2 separate regions of the Homo sapiens genome follow, and region 1 is linked to region 2. Evidence: promoter capture Hi-C in 16 types of primary human blood cells and fetal thymus (Javierre and others, 2016). All regions are on one chromosome and are shown on one strand. The core of a region is centred on a gene start or on the middle of the fragment in contact, and the rest is flanking DNA. Distances in the headings are between cores, read along the strand shown.

Region 1 (4,757 bases), core at 99-2,598, 7.1 Mb after region 2:
TCATTCACCACGAAAAGTACTTTTTGACTACCTTAAATTGCCTTATTTGCTCACTTGTTTATTTCCCTTTTCCCCAACAGGGAACCTTATCTGAAATGTCCACTATAGATCCCAATACTTAAAACAGAGTTGCTTGCACACAGTAACTTCTCAATACATGTGGAGAATGAATGAACAAAATGAGAAAGCTCATGGGGTGTGAAGAACAACTGGAAGACAGGGAATTATTCAAACCAGAATTTTAGGAAGAAAGGAAAAACCTAAGCACTGGCTCCAAATTTTTGTAGAAGCAGACGCATGGAAGGAGAGCTATATTTATTCTGTTTTCCAAGGGCAGGACTCAGGCCAACAGTGGCATGCTATAAGGTGACATATTTGAAAACCACTTTCTAACAAGTGCAGAGTCTCAAAATGGAAATGAGCTTCCACAAAAGGTAGTGCTCAGTGGTAGTGCTTGGACAGAGGCTGGATCATCACGTATAAGAAACAAAAGACAAGTTTCAGAGCCTAAGTGTGTCATGCTGGACAAGTCACCCTTCCCCTTGCTGGATCTCAGCTGCATATTAAACGCATTATTAAATCTCAGCTGCATTACTAAACACGAGAAGATTGGAAGAGAATTACCGACTTGTCCAAGCCCTCTCCAACTTTAAGACTAGGAATCAGGTTAAGTTCAACAAGTCTCGAAAATACTGTCCTCTACACCATAAATTCTGCAGATGCGAAGTCTGTATCTCCCTTGTTCACTGTTGTATCCCTAAGACCTGGCAAATGATAGGGACTCCACAAACAGCTGATGGCCATATGGGGGAGAGATGTGTCAACGAATCTGCCACGTTTTCCTCCTCGATGTACGGCAGGGACTGTGAACACCCAAAGAGGCCCAAATGGTTGCGTTCTCTGGAACAGAGAACTTTACAAAAGTTCCAGCAAAGCTCACTGACCCTGATTATCCCTTGGTCCAGTTTCTGGCGCGGTGACGGCAGTGTCCTTGTCTCCCAATGCCGACACCTCCCCCGGAAATTGTCAGCCGCCTCTGGGCCTCCCCGAGTCGGGGGGTGACCAGCGTCCAGCTAAAACAGAGGCTAGGGCCGAGGAGAGGGGCGGCTGCCCCACGAGGAGGACGACCCCCAAGAGCTCGAGAGTGAGGGGGCCGGGAAGTGACTCACCTCAGGAAGGGACTTGCCGCAGCTGAGGCTGTAAATCTTCACCTCATTGAGGCTGGAGACCTGCATGGCGCCGCACAACACTGTTCAAGTCCCGGGTCCTTTCCCACCAGCGTGCTCGAGCACCGTAATCCCGGGACCTCCGAGCCCCTGCTCCGCGGCGTGCGGCCGCTGGCGCCGACTGATGACGCACTTCCTGGAGCCGGAACACGCGGGCAAGTTCCCGGAAGAGGGAAGGTGGCTGAATCCGGGAAGAGCGGCGGCCGGGAGAAAAACTAGTGAGGCTCTGACAACCCGGCGTGGCTGTCGGCGACGCTGCTACGGGCAAGACTAGACACAAGCCGGGCGCGGTGGCTCACGCCTGTAATCCCAGCACTTTGGGAGGCTGAGGCGGGCGGATCACCTGAGGTCGGGAGTTCGAGACCAGCCTGACCAATATGGTGAAACCCCGTCTCTACTAAAAATACAAAAAAATTAGCCTTGCGTGGTGGCCGGCATCTGTAGTCCCAGCTACACGGGAGGTTGAGGCAGGAGAATTGCTTGAACCTGGGAGGCGGAGGTTGCAGTGAGCTGAGATCGCGCCGCTGCACTCCAGCCTGGGGGACAGAGCGAGATTCCCTCTCAAAAAAAAAAAAAAAAAAAAAAAAACTAGACACAGCTCTCCCTGCTGTTAGCATCCCGAGCGGCAGGAGGAGGCTTTCGAGTCTCTGCCCAGGCCGAGATGTCATCCTCCCGGGCGGGGGCGAGGCAGTTCAGCGAGTGAACCCAGCGAATGAAGGCGACCAGGGTGCGAATTCCGAGTGGAAGTGTATTCTCTTCTCTCCTCCAGTGTTTCTGCGATGTTACGTTAGAAGTACTGTAGGCCGGGTGCGGTGGCTCACGCCTGTAATCCTAACACTTTGGGAGGCCGAGGCGGGCGGATCACCTGAGGTCAGGAGTTCAAGACCAGCCTAGCCAAGATGGTGAAACCCCGTCTCTACTAAAAATACAAAAATCAGTCGGGCCTGGTGGCGCGCGCCTGTAATCTCAGCTACTCTGAAGGCTGAGGTGGGGGAATCGCCTGAACCCGGGAGGCAGAGGTTGCCGTCAGCTGAGATCGTGCCACTGCAGTCCAGCCTGGGCAACAGAGTGAGACTCCGTCTCAAAAAAAAAAAAAAAAAAAAAAGAAGACTGTGGCGTCATCTTCAACCCATTCCTATCTCTGGCCCTCACTTTCAGTATCTAAACCTGGATATTTCTAATTATGAAATATTTCCTTAAAGTAATCTGTTTTCATTCCTCCTGCTGAAACTCAAATACTTAACTATTTTTGGATTATAACTTTCCCAAGTGATCTTCTTACTTCCTTTGATTTAATGAACAAATTATTTTATGCCTTACTTTCTAAAACCCAAATATTATTGTTTTGCTCTCCTACCCACAACATTTTGGAAACTCTCAAATACCAACACCACATTGCATCAGAATTAGGTTGAGAGTTCTTCGTGGACCCTATATCATTTGTCCTTATATTCCCTATCCACCCCATCCACCCCTACCCAGAGTACCAGAACAGTGCCTGGCCTCTATTAGGCATTGCTACATATTTACATTTAGCCATGTACGTAGGGATATATTCCTTAACTCTGTCCTCAAATTTAAGATCCTCCACAAATTTTTAATTTTCTACACTGGTTACAGTTAAGAAAAACTGTAAACATCTTTGGGAAAGGTGGCATAATAGAATGGTTAGATCACAGACTCTGGCTTGGCTTGGTGGTGCAGGCCTATTGTCCTAGCTACTAGTGAAGCCGAAGCAGGAGAATCACTTGAGCCCAGGAGTTCTTGGCTGTAGCACGCAACGAGCGTTGGGTGTCCTCAGTTTGGCATCAATATGGTGACCCCACAAGAGCCAGGGACCACCATGTTACCTAAGGAGGTGTGAAGCGGCTCAGGTCAGAAATGGAGCAAGTCAAAACTCCCATGCTCACCAGTAATGGGATCATGCCTGTGACTAACACTGTACTCCAGCTTGGGCAACACAGCAAGACCCTATCTCTTGAAAAATAAATAAAGATCACAGACTCTGAAGCCAGACTGGCAAGATTCAAATCCCGACTGCCATTTTTAACTGAAAGACCTTAGGTAAGTTACCTAACCTCTCTGTACCTGTGTAAAATGGAGATAACAGTAGTATCCACTTCACAGAGTTATGAGGATGAAATACATTCATATTTATAAAACGTTTGGAACCCAGTACTTGGCACATAGTAAGACCATGTAAGTGTTTGTAAAATAAAACTGAAAATAAAGCCATATACCAAATAAGTGGAAATGTATCCAAATTCCATTAACATTTCCTTTTTAACAGTTTTATTGAGATATAATTAACATACTGTAAAATGTCCCCATTGAATGTACAATGTAATGACTTCTAGTGTATTCAGAGTTCTGCAACCATCACCACAATCATTTTTAGAACAAAAAGAAACCCCAGCCTCAATTAGCATTCACTCCATGCCCCATCCCCCACCCAAGCCCTAGACAACCACTAATCTACTTTCTGTTGGCGTTGTGGGTTTTTTCCATGGGGGCATCTCACTTTGTTGTCCAGGTTGGAATACAGTGGCATGATCATGACCCACTGCAGCCTCAAACTCGAGCTCAAGCTGTCCTTCCACCTTATCCTCCTGAGTAGCTGGGAGTACAGGCACACCACCAGAGCTGGCTGTTTTGTTTTTATAGAGATGGGTCTACCAGTTAAGCATCCCTAATCCAAACATTTCAAGTCCGAAATGCTCCAGTGAGCATTTCCTTTTGAGCATCACATTGACATTCAGAAAGTTTCAGATTTTGGAGCATTTTAGATTTTGGATTTTCAGATTAGGGATACTCAACCTGTATTTTGTAAGGGCACCAATCCCATTCATGAGAGCTCTGCCCTTAAGACCTAATCATGGGCTGAGCACGGTGGCTCACGCCTGTAATCCCAGCACTTTGGGAGGCCAAGGCAGGCAGATCACGAGGTCGGGAGTTCAAGACCAGCCTGGTGAACATAGTGAAACCCCTGTCTCTACTAAAAATGCAAAAATTAGCCGGGCATGGTGGCACGCACCTGTAGTCCCAGCTACTCAGGAGGCTGAGGCAGGAGAATTGCTTGAACCCGGGAGGCAGAGGTTGTGGTGAGCAGAGATGGCGCCACTGCACTCCAGCCTGGGCAATAGACCGAGACTCCGTCTCAAAAACAAAAACAAACAAACAAAAAAAAACTAATCATGACCAGGCGCAGTAGCTCATACCTCTAATCCCAGCACTTTGGGAGGCTGAGGCGGGCAGATCACTTGAGGCCAGGAGTTCTAGACCAGCCTGGCCAACACAGCAAAACCCTGTTTGTACTAAAAATACAAAAATTAGCCAGGTGTGGTGGTTGGCACCTGTAGTTCCAGCTAATCTGGAGGCTGAGGCACAGGAATCGCTTAAACCCGGGAGGCGGAGGTTGCAGTGAGCCAAGATTGTGCCATTGCACTCCAGCCTGGGCAACAAGAGTGAAACTCCGTCTCAAAAAAAAAAAAAAGGCTGGGCATGGTGGCTCATGCCTATAATTCCAGCACA
Region 2 (4,639 bases), core at 1,243-3,742:
AACTTTGAATAACCGTACTTTCTATAACACATAAAATTGGAAGAAATTGGACAGGCGTGGTGGCTCATGCCTGGAATCCTAACACTTTGGGAGGCCAAAGCAGGTGAATCATTTGAGGTCAGGTGTTTAAGACCAGCCTGGCCAATATGGTGAAATCCCATCTCTACTAAAAAAAATACAAAAATTAGCCGGGCGTGGTGGCACGCACCTGTAATCCCAGCTACTCCGGAAGCTGAAGCAGGAGAATCGCTTGAACGCAGGAGGCAGAGACTGCAGTGAGCCAAGATTGTGCCACTGCACTCCAGCCTGCGCAACAGAGACTCTGTCTCAAGGAAAAAAAAAAAGAAGAAATTCAGATTGTGTGACTCTGTTCTCAATAAAAAGGCAACACCACAAAGGGGCATGCCATGGAAAGAACCACACTCATTCCTGTAAACTGTAGCCCATCCAGTCCAATAACTATGTAAGTTTTTTTTTTTTTTTTTTGACGAGTCTTGCCCTGTCACCCAGGCTGGAGTGCAGTGGTGCAATCTCGGCTCACTGTAGCCTCCACTTCTCGGGCTCAAGCAATTCTCCCACCTCAGCCTCCCGAGTAGCTGGGATTACAGGTGTGCGCCACCATGCCCAGCTAATTTTTGTATTTTAGTAGAGATGGAGTTTCATCATGTTGGCCAGGCTGGACAAGTATTTTTTTAAAAAAAGACAAGGAATTATGGCATAAAAGGCTGAATGGAACAGGAGAGCTGAGTCCTGGCTTATCCCTAATACTGTAAGTAATATGAACCACTATTTGTAACTGCTTTCAGTCTGTTCCCTAATTTGTAAAATGAAAACAATCACACGAGGTTCCCTACATGCCTAGAGGGTAGCTATATAGATCAAATGCCATCTGGCATATGAAAGCCTTTGAATAGGTTAAAATGTCACACTGATATGAGAGGTGACTACCTTCTGAAACTTCCGGGCTTGCAGATTTCCTGACAAAGGCCCAGGCCTCATCCTCTGTGGCAAACTTCTTAAATCTGGCAGCAGGAAACCGGTCCACCTGTGCTCTGCACTCATTCCTGGAAAAGATGTGCAATGTTATTTCCTTCTTCCTTCTCTAACTTATCCCCTTTTTTATTGAGATTCTTAAGGTTGGAAATACAGTTGTCCCTTGGTATCTGAGGGAGACTGATTCCAGGAAGTCCTCCACCCCATCACAGATACCAACATCAGAGGATGCTTAAGTCCTTTGCATAAAATGGTGTATTTGCAAATAACCCACACACATCTTCTTGCATGCTTTAAATCATCTCTAGTTTATAATACCTAATACAATCTATATAGTTGTATTGTCTTTTTATGCGTATTTTAAAACTGTATTCTATTTTAATTTTTTCCAAATATTTTTGATCTATGGTTAGCTGAAACTGAGGATGCAAACTGGATATAGAGGACCAATTTTTGCGTGAAAAGGGCAGAGTCGCACCTTATAGTTTTATCCTGCACGTCAGACTCTACACCTGTGTTCTACTGTATGCCAGCCAGCCAGCACACCAGCACCATAAGGCTTTCGTCAAACTCAAAGCATAACAAAATACTGCGGTCTTTGAAAAAAATATTAACCATTTCTTTACAACAAAAAGGTCAACTTCTGAGATGCTTCTTCCTCAATACTGTAGCTGCCGTGCATGGGGAAACACAGGTAACGAACTTTGGTATCTTGTAGTGGGAAGAGTTCTGGTGGTACAGTCAGAACAGCTGGGCTCAAGTCCTTTCTCTGTCAGTTACATGCCCTGGGAACTTCCTGACCCCAAGAACTATACCTGAAAGTGAGAATAATCCCTCTCACCTCCAAGGGTTGTTACAAGGATCCAACTGCAAATACTGGCTTATTAGAATTTGCCTTTTTTAAAAGGGAAGATTAGGTACTGAGTTCCAATCCCAATTTAGCTGGTACGGAAAGTCTTCTGGTAACGGGGGTTCGTTCTGATTACGTGTCACTTTTTGTTGCACTTTAACTGCAACAAAGATGGAGGATTAAACACAGGGTTTATTAGGCCACCCCTAACCTTTACGCGACGTTTCTGATATTTCAAACAAGTCTTCGGTGCGTTCCAGTCCCAGGCCATGAGCCTCCTGGAACCCCGCCGGCCGAGCAGGAAAACGAGGCGGTCCCCCGACCACCCACAGCCACAGCGCGCGGCACAGACTCGGACCGCCAGGCTCCCGCCGCCGGGGTTAGCCGGGCTCCGGCCTCCCTCGACCCCGATGCCGGCAGGGAGGCGCCTCGGCGGGCGGGCCACTCACCAGGTCAGAAAGACCCCGGTCTTGCGGCCCCTCCTCACGGCATAGAACATCCCGAACCCGCGAGAGCCGCGGCGGCAGGGCAAGGCGGCCAAGGCGACTCTGTGGGCCAGGAACAGAAGCCAGCTCATCGCTCACTCCCGGCACCGGGAAGCATTTCGACTCCCGGCCCAGCGTGGGCGCGAGCCGCCGGCGCTCAACACCGCACTTCCGTCACCGGCGCGGGAAGATGACGCACGTCTGGGCGGAGTCCTGATGAGGGCCGGGGCCTAGGGAGGGGCGGTGTCGTAGGGCGGAGCCCGGAGCTCGGCCCCTGACGAGCCCGAACTCGTCAACTTCCTGTCGGTACTTGAAGAAGCGGAGCCAGGGCTGAGATCCCGAAGGCGGGCGAGGTCTGGGATGGGGCGGGGCCTATGGGAGCGGGGCTGAAGCCCTGGGCCCGGCAGAGGAAGGTCGAGATGGACCATGTTGGGCCCCTTCTCTCCCCGCCCCCAGGCCGCAGTTCGGGGGCCACGCCCCGGCGTGCTCGGGTCACCGCGGGAAGCCCTTGAACCCCCTGGCGCCCGGCACCCACGTGCGGTAACCGCGGCTCCTCGAGAGCTCCAGGGATGCGGATCTACAGTAAGGGCTGTGGCCAGATGAATGAATGCACATTTTTTAGTGGGCAGAAAGATGTTAGAATTCATGAATTAGAATAAGCACAAAGGAGGGCGAGAGGGGAGGCCGTGGAAGCCGCATTCCTCCCCTTGCCTTGGGCGCCCACCCCCGAAGGGGCGCGTCCCCTCCCTGCTCCACTGCACGTGGGTGTTTAACCAGGGGATATCCAGTGCCTCAAGCACCACGACCCGGGAGAAAACTGAGTTGAGAAGGTAACTTTTAGAATTCTCCCCATTTGACCTTTTGCTCTGTAAGCAAATCAAGTAATTTTAAAAGTGTTCATGGGTTGGAGGGGCGTGGTGGCTTACGCCTGTAATCTCAGCACTTTGGGAGGCCAAGGCGGGTGGATCACCAGGTCAGGAGATCGAGACCATCCTGGCCAATATGATGAAACCCTGTCTCTACTAAAAATACAAAAATTAGCCGGGCGTGGTCGCCTGCGCCTGTAATCCCAGCTACTCAGGAGGCTGAAGCAGGAGAGGCGCTCGAACTCGAGAGGTGGAGGTTGCATCTGGGCGACAGAGCGTGATTCCGTCTCAAAAAAAAAAAAAAAGTCTCCATTGGCAAACATTGTTATTCGAATTATTTTTAAACCACTTTTCTTTAATTTTCTTAAGGTCTTCTAACAAGCCTTTTGCACACCTGCCATGTATTTTGTCAGGCCTTGGGGATGAAGGTGAGAAATTCGAGAATCCCCGGAGATAACACATCAGCAAATAGTGCGCAGGCAGAACAAGCTGTTGGAGGTGAGAGACACAGAGCAGAGAAGCACCCGCACCTGGAGAGTCAGGAGGGCCTCACATCAGAACGCCTGAGCAAATACAGTTTTGAAGGATACTAATTTTTTAAAAAGTTCATTCACATGAGTTAGACAAAGAGAAAGAAGCAGGACATTCTAGGAAGAAGGAACGGCCCAGGCAAAAGCGACGCGTACATTGGCGTGGTAAGTTGTGTTCCTCTGTGAAATCGAAGAACATCTTTTTTTTTTTTTTTTTTTTTTTTTAAACAGAGTCTTGCTGTGTCGCCCAGGCTGGAGTGCAGTGGCACGATGCACGATTGGGGCTCACTGCAACCTCCACCTCCCGGGTTCAAGCATTTCTCCTGCCTCAGCCTCCCAAGTAGCTGGGATTACAGGCGCCCGCCATCACGCCTGGCTAATTTTTATGTATTTTTAGTAGAAACAGAGTTTCACCATGTTGGCCCGGCTGGTTGCGAACTCCTGACCTCAAGTGATCCGCCTGCCTCAGCCTCCCAAAGTGCTAGGATTACAGGCATTAGCCACTGTGCCTGGCCAAAGAACATCAATTTTAAACATTTCAGCTTTCCTAATTTTAATTTAAATTGGCCATAGCTTTCATTCCTCATTCCTACCTATTGCACTTCAAGACGGATTCTTATTTTAAAATAAAAAGACACACACAGCTGTCCCTAAAGTCCATTTATGACTGATCATCCTACCCTTGTGTAGATATCTGAGGAAGCCCAGAGATGCCCGGGAAGGCTCTCAGGATGACCTGACAGCTGCCCCCACCTCGTCAGCATATCTGAGGGTTGACCTACCAAGGGCTTGCTTTTCTGTGCCCACTGGCTGGTCCTGTATCACAAGGACTCATCTTCCCTGAGAAGTCCTAGGTTGGAATTACCTGAGGACGCTTGCAGGATCATCCACATGACTTTCCACAGTGCCAAAACC

Evidence for each region. The method cuts DNA at HindIII sites, captures the fragments that hold promoters and counts their contacts. A CHiCAGO score of 5 or more calls a contact.
Region 1: the fragment with the promoter of NOL10 here is called in contact with the fragment with the promoter of RNASEH1 in region 2 in 1 of 17 cell types (monocytes); the score reaches 7.8 in monocytes.

The regions. Positions count from the first base shown.
Region 1 is chr2:10,688,627-10,693,383 of GRCh38, forward strand. NOL10 (nucleolar protein 10) reads right to left here and starts at 1,349. Exons shown (of 21, transcript NM_024894.4): 1 at 1,170-1,349. The coding sequence starts at 1,235. It also overlaps the pseudogene RN7SL832P. RefSeq lists enhancers at 796-855, 916-1,195. The HindIII fragment of the contact is 7,879 bases long and covers 1-4,757 here.
Region 2 is chr2:3,555,841-3,560,479 of GRCh38, forward strand. It overlaps RNASEH1 (ribonuclease H1), which reads right to left and starts at 2,493. Exons shown (of 8, transcript NM_002936.6): 1 at 2,293-2,493; 2 at 949-1,064. The coding sequence starts at 2,420. It overlaps RNASEH1-DT (RNASEH1 divergent transcript), which reads left to right and starts at 2,546. Exons shown (of 3, transcript NR_038429.1): 1 at 2,546-3,158; 2 at 3,608-3,889. RefSeq lists silencers at 2,155-2,254, 2,625-2,944 and enhancers at 2,345-2,594, 4,259-4,639. The HindIII fragment of the contact is 22,605 bases long and covers 1-4,639 here.